2 separate regions of the Homo sapiens genome follow, and region 1 is linked to region 2. The links are contacts of gene promoters, found by promoter capture Hi-C in human tissues and cell types (Jung and others, 2019). All regions are on one chromosome and are shown on one strand. Each heading gives the region's core, a stretch centred on a gene start or on the middle of the fragment in contact. The rest is flanking DNA. Distances are from core to core; before and after follow the strand shown.

Region 1 (3,581 bases), core at 312-2,811, 140 kb before region 2:
TTCAAAGAGTACTCAGAAACGGCCCATCTGATCTTGCCATTTTATCTTTGCATTTTCGATGAGATAAGAAGGCAGAGCAGGTATTATCATCTGTTTAGAAGTCCAGAGATGAGTAACTTGCTCAAAGGCTGATGACTGCCCAGTGGCAGAGCTAGGATTAGACCTGGACAGTTGGTGATAATGCTTTCCTAAGTAGCACTACCGGCTGCAAACACATAGGTTCTTGTCTGTTCCACATAAATATGCAGTCTCTTATCAGACTCCAGTGAAAGGCTGACAAGAGTGAAGGAAGGAAGACTAAAGATAAGTGGCTAATGTGGGAAGTGAATGGCCTTTTGATGCAGTCAGGCTCAGGTTCAAATCTTGGCTTCATTTCTTATGCTGTGATTTGGACAGTTAACCTAAGCTTGTTTTCTTCATCAGTCAAAATGGGAAACAACACTGATTCAATTAACATTTATTAAGAAATTCCAGTGTGTCAGATAAACCATTACTAGAAAGTCATAAAAGGCTGTTTGATACATTTTAATCAATACATTATTATTTTTTAGGCTAGTCATGGTGGCTCATGTCTAATTCCAGCACTTCGGGAGGCCAAGGCAGGAGAATCACTTGAGGCCAGGAATTTGAGACCAGCCTGGGTAACATACTGAGACTCCCATCTCTACAAAAAAATTTAAATATTAGCTGGGTGTGGTGGCACATGCCTGTAATCCCAGCTACTTGGGAGGCTGAGGTGGGAGGATCACTTGAGCCTGGGCTGTCAAGGCTGCAGTGAGCTGAGATCACACCACTGCACTCCAACCTGGGTGACAGAACAAGACCCTCTCTTGAAAAAAATTTTTTTGTGTTTTTTTTTAGGACAGGTGCAGTGGCTCATGCCTGTTAATTGCAGCACTTTGGGAGGCTGAGACAGGCGGATCACTTGAGGTCAGGAGTTCAAGACCAACCTGGCCAACATGGGGAAACCCCGTGGTGGCGCAGGCCTGTAATCCCAGCTACTTGAGAGGCTGAGGCAGGAGGTTCACTTGAACCCGGGAGGCGGAGGTTGCAGTGAGCTGAGATAGCGCCACCGCACTCCAGCCTAAGCAAGATGGAGACTCCATCTCAAAAAAAGTTTTTTTTTTTTTTCCCACAGGGACAGAGGATTTTGGATGTGGCCCTGGAGATACATTTTCTAAAAATTTTTATTCACTACATACCTCTCAAAGGAATTAAATCTTTTTTTCTAATTAAAAAAATTAATTTTTTTTTTTTTTTGTAGTGGTGGGGTCTCAGTAACCAGGCTGGTCTTACACTTCTGGGTTCAAGCCATCCTCCCACGAGTATCCCAAAGTTCTGAGATTACAGGCATGAGTCACTGTGCCTGGCCAAAGGAACTAAATCTTGAAGATTTAGTTGCTTGAAAGTTAGACCAGGAGTCTAATGCGGAGGCCAATGGAGGCCAGGCAAGAAGCGTATGGGAGCAGAGCAGGTGGGATAGGGAACCGCCAAGCCCTTGGCTGCACTTAACACTGCAAAACAGGGAGAGCCCCGTGGAGCCAGGTGAAGCAGGTGATTCTCTGTGGAGTCTCCCACATTTTAAATGTTGGAAAATATAGTGAAAAACAGTATCTCAGTTAAATCTTTCCTGTAGGCTGCCAGTTTCTCAAGTTAGTTCCAGAGGAAAAGGGGCTTTTTAGTCACATGAAAATGGCAATTGCAAAGTCAAAACTTTGGGAAGATAAGCCTGGTCAGGGAGCTGCACATGATTTGGTTTAGTTGGCACTTGGAGAGAAAGCTGGGGAAGCCCAAGTCAGGAGGCCAGAGAGCAATCTGTCAGGCGTGAGATGTGACAGTGCACATTACAACTGCTACTGAGTGGGGCAAATCCCTGTGTCAAGGACCAGAGCATGGCAGCTCACGCCTGTAATCCCAACACTTTGAGAGGCCAAGGCAGGAGGATCATTTGAGCCTAGGAGTTCAGGACCAGCCTGGGCAAGATGATGAGGCCTGTCTATATAAGACTAGAGCCCTGCCCTTTCTACTTCATCAGCACAAGAGTCCAGGCAAGAGGAGGGCCATTTAACCCTACCCCTGCGATTTTGCTGTTCCACACATTAAATAGGAAAAGACTGGCAAAGGGGAATTGATAGTAAGTGGAATTTATTTATAAAACAATGCAAATACTATGTGGAATTAGGAAGCATTTCCCATTTTTATTCATAAAATTATTACTTAAAATTGCAAAAGTAGATTTACAGAGGCACAGGTAACAAAACAGGAAATGAAATGTTCCAGACATTCCGAAAAGTTCGAAAGAAACACACCCTAGCCTCAAAATCTCCGGTTAAACCGTGGTTGCACAACAGGTTCTATTTATTCCTGCATTTTCTCAATAAGTTCTTCTTTATATTTGCCTTTCTCTTTTCCAACTTGTCGAGACTTGGCTTTGCGTTCAAGAATTTTTTTCCGATCCTTGTCCAGTTTTAGCCTGGTGATAACCACCTGTTGGGAGTGAGAAAACAGGTCTTTATTTCTGCATCCCCACCAGCTATTGAGCAATATAGACATCATAAGTTAAGTAAGACCTCAGCCATTCAGCTTTTAAGGAACTGAAACTCTGGAAGGAAAACAGACCCTGTAACACAATACAAAATAGGAACACAAAGGAAAAATAGCATGTTCCACTAGGTAGGCATGAGGGCTACAGGAAGATATATTCTCTCTTATTCCTCTGAATATTATGTGGTAGGGGAAGTGATGCCTAGAACACTTGGAAGCCTCTTGCAACCAGCTTAAAGACACAGCCATCGGCCGGCCATGATGGCTCACACCTGTAATCCCAACACTTTGGAAAGCCGAGGCGGGCGGATCACGAGGTCAGGAGATCGAGACCATCCTGGCCAACATGGTGAAACCCCATCTCTATTAAAAATATAAAAATTAGCTGGGCGTGGTGGTGTGTGCCTGTAGTCCCAGCTACTTGGGAGGCTGAGGCAGGAGAATTGCTTGAACCCAGGAGGTGGAGGTTGCAGTGAGCCGAGATCGCACCACAGCACTCCAGCCTGGTGACAGAGCGAGCATCCGTCTCAAAAAAAAAAAAAAAAAAAAAAAGACACAGCCATCACCAAGAAAGGCAAAACAGAAAAGAGAAGAGAAGAAAAATCTGGATCCTTGATGATATCACAAAGCTACTGAATCAATCAAGTCCACCTGGCCTGCCTCAGCCAACTGTGCAGGGAGTACCAAAACACCAATAACTTTGAACAGTATTGACACACTCCATGGCTGCTACTGCCACTCAGTCCTTGACCATACCTTGCTTGGGTGAATGCCCACGTGGACAGTTGTGCCGTTGGCCTTCTCACGCTGCACCCGCTCGATGTAGATGACATATTTCTTTCTGTACACCTGGACTACCTTGCCAATTTGCTGACCTTTGTAGTGTCCTCGAACTACCTAAGAGAAAATACAAAAGAGAATCCCCCTCCATTTGTAGTGCATGATCATAAAGAGGAAGCTAACCATCAGGAACACATGGGCTAAACATATAACTTTGTCAAAAGCAGCTTAATCCTGGCAGTCAAAAATTAGCTACT
Region 2 (3,507 bases), core at 870-3,369:
CTAGCCAGCTTCTCAGAGCTGAGCATTTCTCTCTTTAAATATCAATGCCTGACACAGGGCCCTTCCAAGGCCAAAGGCTAGAGCTGGCCTTACCCATTTTCCTTACTTCCCTTACCTGCCCCCACAAGCCACCAATTCAAGGAGCACAAGGTTGGGAGCCATGTGTGACCTGAGACCTAAGTCTACCCTTCCCATTTAGCACCCATAAAGTCCAAGATAAGGCCCTCATCCCTGGAGCCTCATTTCCTCCTTGGTAAGACGGAAGGGTGAGGTGCAGGGAGAAAGGATTAAAAGATCAAAAACAGCAATTTCCCCAGCAAGCTCAAAATCACCGGAACCTACTGAATCACACAGGGGCAGGGGGCGGCGGTGGCACGAATCCCTATGGTTGGCCTGGGTAAGGGGAGGCTTTGTGGAACCAGAAATTGATGTGCCGACCACAGCTCTTATGGCCCAGACTTAACTGATGCTATTAGGACTGACCTTGAATTCCACCAGAGGGGCTGTCCTTGTTCAAAACTGCCTAGGTCTGCTAGCCTCAGGGCTGCCCGGCAGGGGCAAGAAGCCGGCAAACATTTGCTAGCTGGTATCAGGGACCCGGACAGGCTGGAAAACCATGTCAACCAATCAAGAGGTCCAAGACCAGTGTCCTCTTTGGGCCTAAACCCCAATATATCCCATGCTATGGGGGTCATGGCAGGCTAAGGGCCTTTCTCTCTGGGTAGACTGTCACTTTACACTGCCTTCACATGCAAGAAGAGGGGAAGAAATACCTCCTGTGGCACAGGCATCTGAATCACTATTTTGTGGATGTGGAAAACCCCTCCTGGAGAACACCCCCCATCCACTAATGCCCTATTTCTGAGCTCTAAATCATGCCAGACTCTGCTAAGGGTGTTTCACGCACTCAGTCGTCACAAGCGGAGACCTTATTTTTAGCCCCAATTTGCAGGTGGTGAAACTGAGGGCGCTCGGAGACTTGCTGAGGTCAGCCAGCCGAGCGGCGACAGGGAGTTCTGAACCCAGAGCCTTTGCCCCTAACTTCTAGAATATACCGAGCTGTTCAGTAGAAAGGGCAGAGCCAGGATTCTAATCCAGCTCCTCCCTGCATTAAAGCCCTGCTCTTTTCCCAGCCAGACACCAAGTGTGGCTGCCTCAGGCCAGGACATCCCCTGGGGCTCCACACCTCAAGGGAACCTCTGGTGGAGATCTCTTCCCCCGCAGGCTTCCAGAATGCCCCATGCAACCTAGACCATGAGGCAGCTGGACCCCACAAAGGACCCATTGTGGTGACTGCAGAAAGCCAAGGCCAGACCCCGGTGGCCCTTCTGCAGAGTCCTGCCCAAGGCGCCTCCTCCCCTTCCCATGGTGCCCCCATACCCAGCGGACAGGGCTGGGGCTGAGGGAGGGAGGGGCGGGGGCAGGCCTCCCGATCTGCCCGGCCTGGGGGAGCCTCAGGCTATAGAAACTTAAAACCCTCCAGCTGCCGGCAGGCTGCATGGGGCCCCAGGCCCCTCCGGACTCATTCCAGGTGCCCTGCCCCACCTGTCAGCTGAGGTGGGGTCCACCAAGGAGGCTCAGTAGAGGGAGGAGAGGGATGCTGGGGTGTTATGGGCTGTTCCCATCTGGGAGGAGGGAGGAAATGTTTCCTAGTGTGGGGGAGGGGAATGCAAGGTATCCGGGCAGGCTGGGGAGGGGGCTCGGCGGAGGGAAGGTGGGTGGATTTGTCTCCCGCTGCACGAGGGGGCCTCCGCGGCTCTGGCTGGCTTCGTGTGCGGCAGGGGGGGGGCTCGCCTGGGGTCCCTAGGGGCCTGCGGAGGCATGCACAGGGCGGGGAGCCGCTTTTGCATGCAGGGCGGGAGGGGTCCGCGGCGTGCCGGGGCGCTCCCTCTGCCCGCTGAGGGAACTCCCGACTGGCCGGGGTCGCCACACTCACCTCCTGAAGTCAAAGGGCATCGTGCCGCCGCCGGGGGTGGGAGCGCTGCAGGCCAGGCGGGCCGCGGCGCCGCGTGGGTCCGAGCCCGCTGCCAACGCCTCCTCCGGCCGCCCCGCCCCCGCCGGCCGCCCCCCTGACACTCGCCACTCGCCACTCGCCACTCGCCTCCCGCTGCCGGGAAGTGACGCTCCGCGCAGCCCATTGGGCGCCGCCCGCCCGGCCGCCCCTTCCGCCACCCGGTTAAAGGGGCCCGCGGGCAGGCAGGGAAGGGGCGGAGAGTCGAGGCTGTCGGAAGGGAAGGGAGTCCCCCAAAGACTCCAGTACTCATTCCTTCAAGCCTCCCACTTAGATTTCCTTCTCCATCTCTTTGGATGCCCTCGGACAAATTCTCTGCTTCTCCGAGCCCAGTTTTTTGCATTTGTAAACAGTTTCACTGAACTGTGATTGAGTTGGGGGCGGGGGGCGGGGTGATACAGACTTTGGCCGTGCACAGCGTCTAGCTCTGAGTGAGGGCCTAATACTGTGGGGGAAGGGAAGAGGTCGGCCATCCTAGGCTGTTAAGGTGGACTCACCTCTGCCCCTGCCGTGTCTCTCTGGGAAAGCCACTGGGCTTCTCAGAGCGCCCCCCCCCCGCCCCGCCCCTTTTGCATATCTGCACAAAGAGGACGATGACACCTACTTGAGGGGGTTTTCCTGGGGATCAGCTGAGAAACAGGAGACTGGCTTAGCACAGTGCCAGGCACCTGAAACTATTGAGGCTGGCAGTGGCTGTCCCTGCTTCCATCTGCCCCTGTCGTTCACTCCAGTGGGCATTCACAGAGCATCTGCTCTGAACCAGGTCCATCGAGAACATGCAGGGTTGTGGCAGAGGCAGATGGGACCTGCACTGTGACTTGGCCAACGTGGACTGTGCCGATTGTCTCCTTCTTAGAGCCTCAGTTTCCTCCTCAGGAATACAGAGCAGCTGCCTCCGTGACTGCTGGATTAGAGGAGATGGTAGTTGAGGTCACACAAGACCTGAGTAGGGGAAACTCACTCTGAACTTCCCCGAGGTTCTGTCACTGGCCCTTTCTCCAAGGTTGTGGTGGGACAGGGCTTCAAAAAACCCAGGGGAGAATGGTGAGGGCTCGGGTTCCAAAAGCAGAGTCAATGGACAGTTTCCCCCTGTGTAAATAGAGGGGAACAGCAGTGCTGGTTCCTCCGGGAGGATTCAGAAGGGACAACACTAGCACGGGGTCTGGGGTAGGGTGACGTGGTGAACCAAAGCCTTCCCCTAGAGCATATGCCGGGACCTGACCTCTGCGTTCCCTTTTCATTCATTCACTCATTCATTCATTCATTCATTCAGTGTCAGTGGTCTGACACTGTTGGGGGAGAAAAGGAAATCTCAGCCTGAACTGGAAACCTAGGGACAGCAGGGAGAGTTAAGGGATCTTGAGCAGCCACTGCTTCCAAACAGCCATTCGTTGGCCCTGTGTGGGAGGAAACATGCAATGATGGATCTTTGACCTCGAATCCTCCCTCCTCAAACTGTGGTCCACAGACCAGCCACATGGCCATCACAGGACAGA

Evidence for each region. The method cuts DNA at HindIII sites, captures the fragments that hold promoters and counts their contacts. A contact is called where the count stands out against the background at its distance.
Region 1: a contact is called between a fragment that was not itself captured here and the fragment with the promoter of ERGIC1 in region 2, in 1 of the 25 tissues and cell types used here (hippocampus).

The regions. Positions count from the first base shown.
Region 1 is chr5:172,968,319-172,971,899 of GRCh38, reverse strand. It overlaps RPL26L1 (ribosomal protein L26 like 1), which reads right to left. Exons shown (of 4, transcript NM_016093.4): 3 at 3,301-3,441; 4 at 2,129-2,487. The coding sequence ends at 2,359. Among named protein-coding and RNA genes, the nearest start is that of RPL26L1, 11 kb to the right of the region's middle. The HindIII fragment of the contact is 7,277 bases long and covers 1-3,581 here.
Region 2 is chr5:172,832,863-172,836,369 of GRCh38, reverse strand. ERGIC1 (endoplasmic reticulum-golgi intermediate compartment 1) reads right to left here and starts at 2,119. Exons shown (of 10, transcript NM_001031711.3): 1 at 1,937-2,119. The coding sequence starts at 1,956. RefSeq lists enhancers at 1-380, 677-886, 381-1,373 and silencers at 1,357-1,436, 1,447-1,496, 1,867-2,266. The HindIII fragment of the contact is 25,389 bases long and covers 1-3,507 here.